3 separate regions of the Homo sapiens genome follow, and all the other regions are linked to region 2. The links are contacts of gene promoters, found by promoter capture Hi-C in human tissues and cell types (Jung and others, 2019). All regions are on one chromosome and are shown on one strand. Each heading gives the region's core, a stretch centred on a gene start or on the middle of the fragment in contact. The rest is flanking DNA. Distances are from core to core; before and after follow the strand shown. Region 1 overlaps AGBL2 (AGBL carboxypeptidase 2). Region 2 holds the start of CKAP5 (cytoskeleton associated protein 5). Region 3 holds the start of MIR4487 (microRNA 4487).

Region 1 (4,400 bases), core at 1,137-3,636, 850 kb before region 2:
AAGCGATTCTCCTGCCTCAGCCTCTGGAGTAGCTGGGATTACAGGCACCCACCACCGCACCCAGCTAATTTTTGTATTTTTAGTACAGACGGGGTTTCACCATCTTGGTCAGGCTGGTCTCGAACTCCTGACCTCATGATCCACCCGCCTCGGCCTCCCAAAGTGCTGGGATTACAGCCATGAGCCACCGCACCCAGCTGGATGTTCCTCATTTTCTGTCTCCCTGCTTTATAATATTCGTTCATATGTGTTGTTATATGCTAAGTACAGTGCTTGGTGCTAGAGATAGTAGTGATGAGCAAAGTGGAGAGTTCATGGACCCAGAGTTCATGAACTAGTGGGGAAGTTAAACATTTTAACAGACAATTGCATAGTGCTTGGTCCCTCTGAGCATACCTAACCCAGCTTAGAGATCAGCATAAGTTTTCAAAAGGAGTTGACAACTAAGCTGAGATCTAAAGGATGAGTTCGAAATGATCCAATTAAGAGGGTCAAAGAAAAGTATTTCAGTTGGAAGAAACAGAAAAAGAGCATGGCATGCTTGGGCAACCATAGAACATTGAGCATTAAAAACAAGAGAAGAGTCTGAAAATATAGGGAAAAAATAAAAGTAGAGTTTATTTGACTTTATATTTTATTTTTGAGACAGGGTCTTGTTCTGTCACTCAGGCTGGAGTGCAGTGGTGCAATCATAGCTCACTGCAGCCTTGAACTCCTGGGCACAAGCCATCCTCCCCTCTCAGCCTCCTGAGTAGCTAGGACTATAGGCGTGCACCACCATGCCTGGCTAATTTTTTTTCTTTTTTTTTTTTTTTTTTTGAGAACAGAGTCTCGCTCTGTCGCCCAGGCTGGAGTGCAGTGGCATGATCTTGGCTCACTGCAACCTCCGCCTCCCAGGTTCAAGTGCTTCTCTGCCACAGCCTCCCAAGTAGCTGGGATTACAGGCACGTGCCACCACACTCTGCTCATTTTTTATATTTTTGGTAGAGACGGGGTTTCACCATGTAGGCCAGGCTGGTCTCGAACTCATGACCTCAAGTGATCTGCCTGCCTCAGCCTCCCAAAGTGCTGGGATTACAGGTGTAAGCCACTGTGCCCGGCCACCTGGCTCATTTTTAAATAGTTTTTTTGTAGAGACACATGGTCTCACTATGTTGCCCAGGCTACTCCCAAACTCCTGGCCTCAAATGATCCTCCTGGCCTCCTAAAGTGCTGAGATTACAGGTGTGAGCCACCACCCCCAGCAAGGACACTGGAATTTAATAACCAAGTTAATGCTGTGGTAATTCACTAAACTACAAGATCTTTTTTTTTTTTTTTTTTGAGACGGAGTCTTGCTCTGTCGCCCAGTCTGGAGTGCAATGGCACAATCTCGGCTCACTGCAACCTCCGCCTCCCAGGTTCAAGCAATCTCCCTCCTCAGCCTCCTGAGTAGCTGGGATTACAGGTGTGCACCACCACGCCTGGCTAATTTTTTACTTTTTTTAGTAGAGACGGGGTTTCACCATGTTGGTCAGGCTGGTCTCGAACTCCTGACCTCATGATCCGCCCGCTTCGGCCTCCCAAAGTGCTGGGATTACAGGCGTGAGCCACTCACTGCGCCCAGCCAACTACATGATCTTTTATAAAGCAATTTTTAAAAAAATGTTTCAAAGAAACTTATTAACAAACACCTTATTGTTTAAACTAAATTGTATTAATAAGCACCTTATTGGTTGTTTGTTTGTTTTTTTTTTTGAGACAGAGTCTCACTCTGTCGCCCAGGCTGGAGTGCGGTGGCACCGCGTCAGCTCACTGCAGCCTCTGTCTCCTGGGTTCAAGCAATTCTGCCTCAGCCTCCTGAGTAGCTGGGATTACAGGTGCCCACTGTAACTCGGCTAATTTTTGTATTTTTTAATAGAGACGGGGTTTCACCGTGTTGGCCAGGCTGGTCTCGATCTCCTGACCTCATGATTCACTCTCCTTGGCCTCCCAAAGTGCTGGGATTACAGGCATGCAAGCACCTTATTGTTTAAACTAAATTGTGAAAGCCTCATCACTTCCTATAATCTTCGAGAAAATAAATTCATGTAATATTTGACTGAGGTGTATCTTTATATGCTCTTGGAATTCATCAGTGGCTACTCTTCTAAAAATGATATTGAAAAGTTCAAGTTCCGTAAAGGAAATGTTTGTTTGTTTGTTTGTTGGTTTGTTTGTTTTAAATTTATTTTGAGACAGAGTCTTGCTCTGTTCGCCCAGGCTGGCACGCAGTGGCGTGATCTCGGTTCACTGCAACCTCCGCCTCCCAGGTTAGAGCGATTCTCCTACCTCAGCCTCCCGAGTAGCTGGGACTACAGGCACATGCCACAATACCCGGCTAATTTTTGTATTTTTAGTAGAGGCAGAGTTTCACTATGTTGGCCAGGCTGGTCTCGAACTCCCGACCTCAGGTAATCTACCCACCTTGTCCTCCCAAAGTGCTGGGATTACAGGCATAAGCCGCTGCACCCAGCCAAAGAAATCTTTTTAAATTCAGTGTTAATGAAAAAGCCTTCGCTAGGCACAGTGGCTCACACCTGTAATCCCAGCAGTTTGGGAGGCAGAGGAGGGCGGATCACCTGAGGTCGAGAGTTTGAGACCAGCCTGACCAACATGGAGAAACCCTGTCTCTACTAAAAATACAAAATTAGCCGGGAGTGGTGGCACATGTCTGTAATCCCAGCTACTCAGGAGGCTGAGGCGAGAGAATCGCTTGAACCCGGGAGGCGGAGGTTGCGGTGAGCCGAGATTGCACCATTGCACTCTAGCCTGAGCAATAGAGCAAGACTCCATCTCAAAAAAAAAGAAAGAAAAGAAAAAGGCTTGCTTCCTCTGAAACAATTGATAGACCTAGTCCTCTATGGTAATAAAAAAAATTATGTTAATGACCATATTTTGCTCACTTTAAGGAAACTCAGGGCCAAATTTTGAAGAGCTGTTGCAGCAGCTATATTGACCTTTCTGACTTATTCTTAGGTCTTCTATGGATAGTTTATATTTCATTTTATATGCTCTTTGTTAAAAGTGTCCTCATAAGTCTTTATAGAAAGAAACAAGACATAATTATTTTATAAACAAGCAGGAAATTTAGGGTGGGAATTTGGTTTGATTCAACCAAACTAGCCATTTGAAAAATTATTATTATTATTTTATATTAGTTCTGATAGTGCCGTTTACATTATTTCTTATTTTGTACTTTTTAAAATGTCTTCTTTCAGAGTGGGCTCCACCTCAACCAGAATATTTCTATCAGCCTAAAGGAAATGAAAAGGTACCAGAGATTGTAGGAGAGAAAAAAGGAACAGTTGTCTATCAATTAGATTCAGGTATTGTCATTACACTGAACAATGAATGGTTAATCATGACAAAGTTATAATAAACATATGTTCCATAATAAAAGTGATTTTAAAAATCCATAGTTTAGTGGTAAACTCTTTTCCAGGCCAACATGAGTGGGAGCCTGGAGGAGGAGTCATAACCAGTCTGCTGCAAAATTTCGATAATTTTCTAAAATCAAAGTACATTATTTTTAATAGTTCTAAGTCCATTTTACAGCTTCTCTCTTGTTATTCTCCTTCCTGAAAATCAGATGTTGGATCATCTTTGGGGAGATTTCTTTTCTCCACCTGTTATACGTACTTTAGTGAGTACTTTGTTCTATGTGCATATGACTGTCATTTAGTAATGCAGTTTCCTGTGTTGAGTTTTAAGCTTCTAAGGATTGAATATATATCTTTTATAGAAATATGCAGAACACCATACCTAACAACAACAAAATACTCATTCTTTTTTTTTTTTTTTTTTTGCCATTCCTACTGAAGTCATACACATTCTTTTTAAGGGTACCTGTTAGATTCCCCAGGATAAACCATATGTTAGGCCGTAATGGAAGTTTTTATACATGTAAAAGGATTAAAATAATACAAAGTACATTCTCTGACCATAATAAAATTAAGTTAGAAATCAACAACAGAATGAAATATGAGATATCCATAAATATGTGGAAATTGAATAACATCTTTCTAAATAAACTGTGGGTTAAAGAAATCACAAGTAGACTTCAAAAATATTTTGAATGTAGTGAAAATAAAACCATAACATATCAAAAGTTATAGGATGCAAAACAAAATGAACCAGTGCCAGGGATATTTATGGGTATTTATGGCTTTAAGTGCCTGAATTTCAAAACGAAAAAGGCTTCTTATCAATTACCTAAGCTTCTACCTTAGTAAACTGGAAAAATAAGAGCCAACTAAACCCAAAGCAAGCAGCAGGAAAGTAGTAATAAAAATAAGAATGTGGCTGGGCGCTGTGGCTCACGCCTATAATCCCAGCACTTTGGGAGGCCGAGGCAGGCAGACCACCTGAGGTTGGGAGTT
Region 2 (4,265 bases), core at 715-3,214:
AAAAAAGAAAAAAAAAAAAGGGCCGGGCACAGTGGCTCACGCCTGTAATCTCGGCACTTTGGGAGGCTGAGGCAGGTGGATGACCTGAAGTCAGGAGTTTGAAACCAGCTTGACCAACATGGTGAAACCCCATCTCTGTTAAAAATACAATAAAAAATAATTAGCCGGGCGTGGTGGCAGGTGCCTGTAATCCCAGCTACTTGGGAGCCTGAGGCAGGAGAATTGCTTGAACCCGGGAGATGGAGGTTGCAGTGAGCCAAGATCACGCCATTGCACTACAGCCCGGGTGACATGAGAGAGACTCTGTCAGAAAAAAAAAAAAAAAAAGCCGGGTGCAGTGGCTCACGCCTGTAATCCCAGCACTTTGGGAGGCCCAGGCGGGAGGATCACGAGGTCAGCAGATCAAGACCAGCCTGGCTAACACAGTGCAACTCCGTCTCTACTAAAACTACAAAAAATTAGCCAGGTGTGATGGCACGTGCCTGTAGTCCCAGCTACTCAGGAGGCTGAGGCAGGAGAATCGCTTGAACACGGGAGGCGGAGGTTGCAGTGAGCTGAGATTGCGCCACTGCACTCCAGCCTGGGCGACAGAGCGAGACTGTCTCAAAAAAAAAAAAAAAAAAAGCAGTATTGCAGTAAACATCCTTGTACATTTTTCTTTGCATACTTGCACAGATCTGTACGATAAATTCCTCATAGTGGATTACTGGGCCAGAACTAGATTATGTACATTTTAGTAACTGTCAAATTGTCCTCCTAAAGGTTTGTACCAATTATACTCTTACCAATATTGACTTTGAGTGTCCATTTTTCCAAATCTCTTTATATTTTTAAAAACAGAGATGGGGTCTTGATAGCAAGACCCAGGTTGGTCTTGAACTCCTGGCCTCAAGCAATCCTCCTGCCTCGGCCTCCCAAAGCGCTAGGATTACAGGCATAAGCCATTGCACCCAGCCTGTTTTTCCAAATCTTGACCAACCAAAGGCTGTTGAACTTTTTCATCTCTGCCAACTTGACAATGAAAAAACATGTAATTGTTTCATTTACTTTTATCCATCCTCTCTCCATCTTTTAGCCTGTTGGGAATCTACACATTCTTTAAATCCTAGGTTAAAAATTCATCTTCCTCACAGATCCTCCCCCATCAAATTTCTCCTGTCTCTAAGCATTTATAGCTTTTCATTTATACAGTTATTACACTGCTTTGAATTTTAGTGACTAGTCTGTATGTTATATTCCTCCAACCACTGTAGATTACAAATTCCTTGGAAGTAAGGACCTGAACTCATTCACAGAAACACTGAATGTAGAGCTAAGCTAAAATTCTGGAGATCATGTTAACCAAGCCTCTCGTTTTTATAAGGGAATATTAAGCATTTGCAGGATGCGTTACAGTTCACAAAGGCTTTTCTCAGACATTCTATTAGTTATATTAACTCCTCCATTAAATTGTAAGGGAAACATCGTTATCCCATTTTACAGATAAGGAAACAACTCCAGAAGATTTACTGAGAAAAGTGATTTACTCAGAACAGTTCCAAGGTCAGAATCCAGCATCCTGGCTTCATTCGCTGTTACTTCCACGACATCTCAGCTGCCTCTGGTTTCCCTCACAGCACTTAGCTTCACAATCTCTAGGGAATGAAATGACCAAAAAAAATTGTCGGGTGTTGACAGCAGCCTGAACATCTGTAATTAAATAAAGCAAACATGCTGACGACCAAGGATGCCCGGGTCTACACACATTCTTTCGCCTTTCTTTCTGGAGTCGGCAGACTTGCCCCCGGCAGCGACCAGCGTCCCCACCCGTGCAGGCGGCGTCTGGTCCAGAGGGAAACACGGCTGCGCGCGGCCCCTTTAAGGCTGCGGGCGGCGCGTGCCCACAGGCCTTTCAAATGGACCAATAAAAGTCCGATGGGCGGTCCGTCGAGGACCAATAAAGAACGAGGACACTGCGGGGTGTGCGGCGGCCCAAGCGGTTTCAAACGGCTTAGAGCAGGCCGCTTGGTTCTGACCCAGCTGAGGTGAGTGGTCGGTGGGCCTGCCCCACCCGCGAGGCCCTCGAGTGCAGGCATCGCGCGCGCAGAGGAGCCCCTGAATCCTGGGCGGCTGGAGGTCTCCAGACGCGCGCCCCACTTGCCCCACGAACCCGGCAGGTCTGAGGCGGCGAAGCGAGCCGGAGGCCGGGGGACCTGCGGCGGGCAGGGCCGGGGGCGTGGGCGCTCGTGTGCGGCGGAGGCCGGGGTTGGGCTCCAGGTGGCCAGAGCGCGCCGCAGCGTGGCGCGGGTGGCAGCGTCCGCGGGGCGCGGGCGGTGCAGGGCCGCGCCTGGCGGCAGCGATTTACCAAGACTAGGGCGGGGGCCCCGAGAGCCGGCCCTGCTAGAGTGCCTCTCGCGTAATTGTCAAGTGAATGAATAAGTAAGCGCCTACGAGGGCTGTGGTGGTTGCGAAGGGCCTTGTCGCCCTGGAGCAAGGACAGCGGCACCGGGGCCTGGCCGCACACCTGTGTCCCTGCTGGCTTGCTGCGATGTGAACGATTCCGATCATCCACCACCCCGCCCTTAACGACTGGCTTTCTCTCTCTCAACGTGTCGGGAGCGTTCTGGTGTCCTTCCAGCCCTGGAGGTGTTGGGGAACCAATACAATAGCCAGCAGTGTGGGTTGGGCCTTGCTACTTTAAGGTCGGGCTCGGTGAACTAGATTCTTACTTTTGAGCTCTCCCCTCTACTTGTAATCGTGGTAATTGTTGAGCAGGATTGAAATGCATTCCGTTGTGTTTCTTGGATAGAAAATGATGAAAGGGTTGTTGCCAGAGTGGCTAGTGTGTGTTAGAAAATATATTCGTGTTGATGAATCTTAACAATGAGTTTTTTATTCAGCATCAATAGAGGTTGAAGTGGTTTTTGCAGAACTTGCCCCAAATTTATGCGTGGCTCTAATTTAATTCTCATGGGACCAAGGCATCAAATCTTGGCCCAGAAATGCTGCCTGTCTTATGCATAATTATAGTAATTGAAAACTCATTTTTAGAAAGGTGAGCTCCTCCTTCCTCCATTTTCATCACCCTGAAAAGTCCTTCTTTTGACCTAAAGAGCCAATAAATTAAGCTAAGAATCTTTTGAAACTTTAAGAAATTGTAGAAGACTTTGACTTCTCTGAAGTGACTGGACAAACTGTAATGCTTTTACCAAATTTAATGATATAGATAAAGGTGAAATCAATTTATTTTGCAACCATAAGTTAAATCTAGTTGGTAAACTCATGTAAAAAAATTTTTAAATAAGATTTTAGGCTGGGCGCGGTGGCTGACGCCTGTAATCCCAACACTTTGGGAGGCCGAGGCGGGCGGATCACGAGGTCAGGAGTTTGAGACCAGTCGGGCCAACATGGTGAAACCCCGTCTCTCTCTCTCTCTCTCTACTAAAAATACAAAAAATGGCTGGGCGTGATGGCGGGCGCCTGTAATCCTAGCTACTCGGGAGGCCGAGGCAAGAGAATCATTTGAACCCGGGAGACAGAGGTTGCAGTGAGCCAAGATCCCGCCATTGCACTCTAGCCTGGGTGACAGAGCGACCCTCTGTCTCAAAAAAAAGAAAAAAAATTTTTTAAAAGGCTGTTCACTGAGGCAATGGCAAGCAAAGGTATTCCGTAACAATTAACATGCCTTTTACTTTATTCTCCATTACTTTAAAGTCTTGATCAGTTTTGAATTATGTTTGAATTATGAACAGTGGGTGTGGTAATTCCATCGCAGTCTTCTACTACTGACAGTTCAGTTTTAGCAGCACCTGTTTTTTTGGTGTTTTTTGTTTGTTTGTTTGTTTGTTTTTTACCTTCACGGTTTATTGTAAAGGATGCTACAAAGCATACAGATGAAGAGAGGCGTAGGGCTTGTAGGTATGGGAGAAGGGTGTGGAGCTCTTATGCTCTCATATGAAGTGTGTTTGAATATACCAACTCTCCTGTAAACTTTTATCTTAATTCCATCAACACTCACTTTCTTTTCCTTTTTTTTTTTTTTTAAGACAGAGTCTTGCTCTTTCGCCCAGGCTAGAGTGCAGTGGTGCGATCTCAGCTGACTGCAACCTCTGCCTCCTGGGTTCAAGCGATTCTGCCACCTCAGCCTCCCAAGTAGCTGGGACTTCTTGTGTGCACCACAATGCCCAGCTAATTTTTTGTATTTTTAGTAGAGACAGGGTTTCACTATGTTGGCCAGGCTGGTCTCGAACTCCTGACCTCAAATGATCCACCCGCCTCAGCTTCCC
Region 3 (4,394 bases), core at 1,066-3,565, 550 kb before region 2:
GGCTAATTTTTTTTTGGTATTTTTTGTAGAGATGGGGTTTTGCCATGTTGCCCAGGCTGGTCTTGAACTCCTGGCCTCCCAAAGTGCTAGGGACACAGGCTTGGGCTACCATGCCCAGCCTAGAGTCTTTTATGTGGGTAATCATACCATCTCCTAATAACAAAGGTATTAGAAACAGGGAAGGAACATTGTTATTTGTAAAGATATGGCTTGGCTTGGTTTTGAACTTCATGAGAAGGGTAAGGACAGCTGTCCTTTGGCGTCCTGGCGGGGATGGGGGGGAGTTGGTTCCAAGACCCCCTGAGGATACCAAAATCCACAGATGCTCAATCCCTGATATAAAATGGTGTGGTATTAAATATTTGCATATTTAGCCTACCACATCCTCCCATATACTTTAAATCATCTCTAGATTGCCGAAAACAATGTAAATGCTATGTTAATCGCTGTTACATGGTATTGTTTGGGGAACAATGACAAGAAAAAAAGTCTGTACATGTTTAGTACAGACACAACCATCCATTTTTTTCTCCAAATATTTTCCATCCGAGGTTGGTTGAATCCATGGATGTGGAACCCAGGGATACAGAGAGCCGCAAGTATCCATCTTCTGGGACTGACTTTTTCCACTCAATACCATGGTGCAAAGATTCCTTCATGATATTGGTGAACCTGTGGGTCACCTGCTTGCATTGCTGAATGATCTCCACCCTGTGAATGTGTCTACTGTAATTTATTTATCCATTCTCTTATCAGTGGGCCCTGGGGTTATTTCAGGATTTTTTTTGCTATTAGGGACAACGTGAATATTTTTGTCCCTGTCTCTTGGCGCACTTGTCAGAGAACTTATCTTGATTTGCTGCCTGGGGGGATGTGTGGGTGACAGCCTCTGTACCTCCACTTCGTGAGATAAGGCCAGATTGCTCTCCCTAGGGGGCTATTTGGAGCCGCATCCTGACTAGCCACATGCAGGAGGGCCTGCTGCTCCCCTCCTTGCCAGCTCTGGCTGAAGGACAGTTCCCTTCTGCCCTTCAGCCAGCTCTGGCTGAAGGACAGTTCCCTTCTGCCCTTCAGCCAGCTCTGGCTGAAGGACAGTTCCCTTCTGCCCTTCAGATGGTGTAAATAGCATCTCATTGTGGTCTGAATTTGCATCGCCCTCATCAGCAGTGAGGCTGAGCCTCCCTTAGATGGTATTTGAGCAAATTCGTTTTCTCTGCCCTAACATGCCTGCGCTGCGTGTGTGTTATCTATTTTTTTATATTGGATTGCTTGATTTTCTTTTCCTTGATTTGCAAGAGTTCCTTATGTATTTTTGAGGCTATGCCCCGCTGCACTCCGCAGGCATCTCCAGTTGTGACTTCCTTTTCACTTTCTCTGAGGTGTCTCCGCTTCTCTCTCCCCCCCCCACACCTGTCCCAGGGAGGCCACTTGGCATTGTTAGTGTGGGGGGAGGTCGTGTGCCTCTCAGAGCCCTGTTTAAACTGACTCCACTGTTCCTCTTGTCCCTGGGGCCTTAAGGAACCCCTTTCCTCTTCCTTCTCAGACCCCCTCCCATTTTTGGCGAAGACAACTTAGTTTGGGGAGCTCCTATTGGGTTGTGGGCGAGTATCCCGGGACAACTCGGGCCTCACTGCAATGGTGTCCCCCCCCCCCCGTCTCGGTTATTTATCACTTCCGGCTGCCCACCTGGGGGGGCTGGGCCCCCTCTCCGCTCGACTGGGCCGCAGCCGGGCAGCTCGGGCGCTCCCCTGGGGGCGGGCGGCGCGGGGGAGGGGCCCTAGGGGGGCGGGGCCGGGGGCCGGGCCTGCGGCGGGGGCTGGAGTTGGGGGGCGGAAGCTGCCGGAGCAGATAAGGGCCGAGGTCGGCCCTGCGGTGGGACAGTGCGGGACACCGCCTCCGCCCCCGGCCTCCCCAGAGCGCCCCCGCACCCTGGAGACCCCCTCCTGCTACCCAGGCTTGGCATCCCGGGAGGAGACCCCAGGGAGCAGTGGGGGATGAGGCTCCAGCCTGCTCACAGCCTCAGCGACGAGCGGCAGCGGGGCTTCACGCCTCAGTTATCTCAGCTGGAAAATGGGGGTAGGAGCTCGGTTTTCCCCACAGGGCTGTTGGTGATGGACCAAGTGCAGGCTTGTGAAGGTCTCTGTGGGTTGGGCGAGTTTTGAACAGAGGGTCCTCTAAGCATCGCATCGCCTCATTCATCCCCATTGTATAGATGGCAAAGTGGGGAGTTTCACCCAAAGCCCCAGAGCCAGCATGCAAAAAGCAAGTGGGAGGGGGTTGGAACGCTTTCCACCGCCCCACCCTGGGGACAGATCTAGGTTCCCAGGAGCCTGAAGCTTAAAACCATTTGGGGGGGCACTCTTTAAGGAAAAGATTACAAAGTCACAAATACAAAATTGCTGAGAGGCTGGGCGCAGTGGCTCACACCTGTAATCCCAGCACCTTGGGAAGCCAAGGTGGGCGGATCACTTGACGTCAGGAGTTCCAGACCAGCCTGGCCAACATGGTGAAACCCTGTCTCTACTAAAATACACAAATTAGCTGGACGTGATGGTGGGCGCCTGTAATCCCAGCTACTCGGGAGACTGAGGCAGGAGAATCGTTGAACCCGGGAGGCAGAGGTTGCAGTGAGCTGAGATGATCGCACCACTGCACTCCAGTCTGGGTGACAGAGCTAAACTCTGTCTCAAAACAAAAAACAAAAACAAAACAAAACAAAACAAAACAGCCGTTCGCGGTGGCTCACACCTGTAATCTCAACACTTTGGGAGGCCAAGGTGGGTGGATCACCTGAGGTCAGGAGTTCGAGACCAGCCTGGCCAACGTGGTGAAATCCTGTCTCTACTAAAAATACAAAACATAAAATAAAATAATTAGCCAGGCGTGGTGGCGCTCTCCTGTAGTCCCAGCTACTCGGGAGGCTGAGGCAGCAAAATTACTTGAACCCGGGAGGCAGAGGTTGCAGTGAGCCGAGATTGTGTCACTGCATTCCAGCCTGGGCAATAGAGTGAGACTTCATCAAAAAAAAAACCAAAAAAATAAAAAACAAAAACAAAATTGCTGAGACCCCTTCCAGGGCCTCAGAAGGAGCTGAGCCAGTGAGGAAGCTCAAATGCAGCTTTCTTAGTGTCTCAGCCCCACCATGCAGGCCCCCTGGAAGGGGTTATACCCCTCTCCCAAGAAAGTCAGACACCAACAAGCTTAGAGGGCAGGGTGGCCCAAGGCAATATGTCAGGGAGGTGCCGCTGCAGCTGGTCCCCAACCCCTTGCATGCCCAGGCAGCAGTCCCTCAGCCCAACCAAGAGCAAGGGCAGTCAGGTATTTGCAGACTGCAGCCTCAGCCAGGCAGGGCCAAGCCCTCCAGTCCCATCCAGTCATGGTTCAACTTGCCACCCAGGGCCCCAACCCTGCAAGCTAGGAAGGTACAGAAGAACTCCTAGGAGAAAAGGAAGGAGGGGCTCTCAGGTATATGTAAGTGCATGGGACTTGGAGTTAGACAGGATTGGGGTTCAAGCCCCTGCAAGGCTGTGTGACCTTGGGACATCTCTTTTCCCTGGGTTTCCTCGTATGTAAAATGGGAGTAATAATCGTACCTACTGGACAGAGCCGGTGCCTGAAGGAGGGCTGGGCCCATGGCTGTTAGAAACACATTTCCCTCCTGTGAGATCTCCAGGCCAGGAGAGGCATTTTCTCCCATTTTCATGTTGTCACTTACCCAGGGGGTGGTCTCTCCATTGCAGAGCTGAGATTTAAATGCGGAAATGTCTGGTGCAGATGCACTCAGGTCTCACCACCAGGAATGCTGCCTCTTTGGGCCTGTCTCCCAGGGAGTTAAGTCCCACTGTTACGTGTTCATGCCCAGGGCTGAGAGCCAAGGGGAGCCTGGCTCATCCCCTTTCTGGATTTTATCATCTCTCTGGTCCCATGGGCACCTGAGGCTGGAATTTTTTCAACTCTGATATCCTCCAGCCTGGACCAGGAGAAGCAGGACAACTGAGAATAGGGACAGGGTAGGGGAGCTGGGAAGAGGTGGTGGCCGTGGGCCTGGAGGCAGCAGTGAGACTCTAAAAGGCTTGAAGTCTTTTTCCAAAGAGATGCTGCTTTGCCTCAGGGTTTGCATGGGACTTCCACTGGATGGGCACACAGGAAAACTGAGTTCTCATCTCAGCATTGCCCCTTTCTTTTACTTTTTTTTTTTTTTTTTTTTTGAGACGGAGTCTTGCTTTGTCACCCTGTTACCTAGGCTGGAGTGCAATGGCATGATATCGGCTCACTGCAACCTCCGCCTCCTGGGTTCAAGCTATTCTTGTGCCTCAGCCTCCTGAGTAGCTGGGATTACAGCTGCCCGCCACCATGCCCAGCTAATTTTTGTATTTTTAGTAGAGATGGGGTTT

Evidence for each region. The method cuts DNA at HindIII sites, captures the fragments that hold promoters and counts their contacts. A contact is called where the count stands out against the background at its distance.
Region 1: a contact is called between a fragment that was not itself captured here and the fragment with the promoter of CKAP5 in region 2, in 1 of the 25 tissues and cell types used here (spleen).
Region 3: a fragment that was not itself captured here is called in contact with the fragment with the promoter of CKAP5 in region 2 in 2 of the 25 tissues and cell types used here (dorsolateral prefrontal cortex and lymphoblastoid cells).

What each region holds. Positions count from the first base shown.
Region 1 is chr11:47,698,393-47,702,792 of GRCh38, reverse strand. AGBL2 (AGBL carboxypeptidase 2) reads left to right here. Exons shown (of 19, transcript NM_024783.4): 8 at 3,240-3,347. Among named protein-coding and RNA genes, the nearest start is that of AGBL2, 15 kb to the left of the region's middle. The HindIII fragment of the contact is 3,199 bases long and covers 787-3,985 here.
Region 2 is chr11:46,843,979-46,848,243 of GRCh38, reverse strand. It overlaps CKAP5 (cytoskeleton associated protein 5), which reads left to right and starts at 1,964. Exons shown (of 44, transcript NM_001008938.4): 1 at 1,964-2,024. It overlaps LRP4-AS1 (LRP4 antisense RNA 1), which reads right to left and starts at 1,833. Exons shown (of 3, transcript NR_038909.1): 1 at 1,745-1,833; 2 at 1,527-1,634. RefSeq lists enhancers at 1,570-1,689, 2,144-2,721, 3,780-4,265 and silencers at 1,900-1,979, 2,160-2,309. The HindIII fragment of the contact is 16,643 bases long and covers 1-4,265 here.
Region 3 is chr11:47,397,672-47,402,065 of GRCh38, reverse strand. The region is part of intron 2 of SLC39A13-AS1 (SLC39A13 antisense RNA 1); the gene reads left to right. It overlaps MIR4487 (microRNA 4487), which reads right to left and starts at 1,096; the gene lies at 1,024-1,096. RefSeq lists an enhancer at 628-1,628 and a silencer at 1,678-2,037. The HindIII fragment of the contact is 6,212 bases long and covers 1-4,394 here.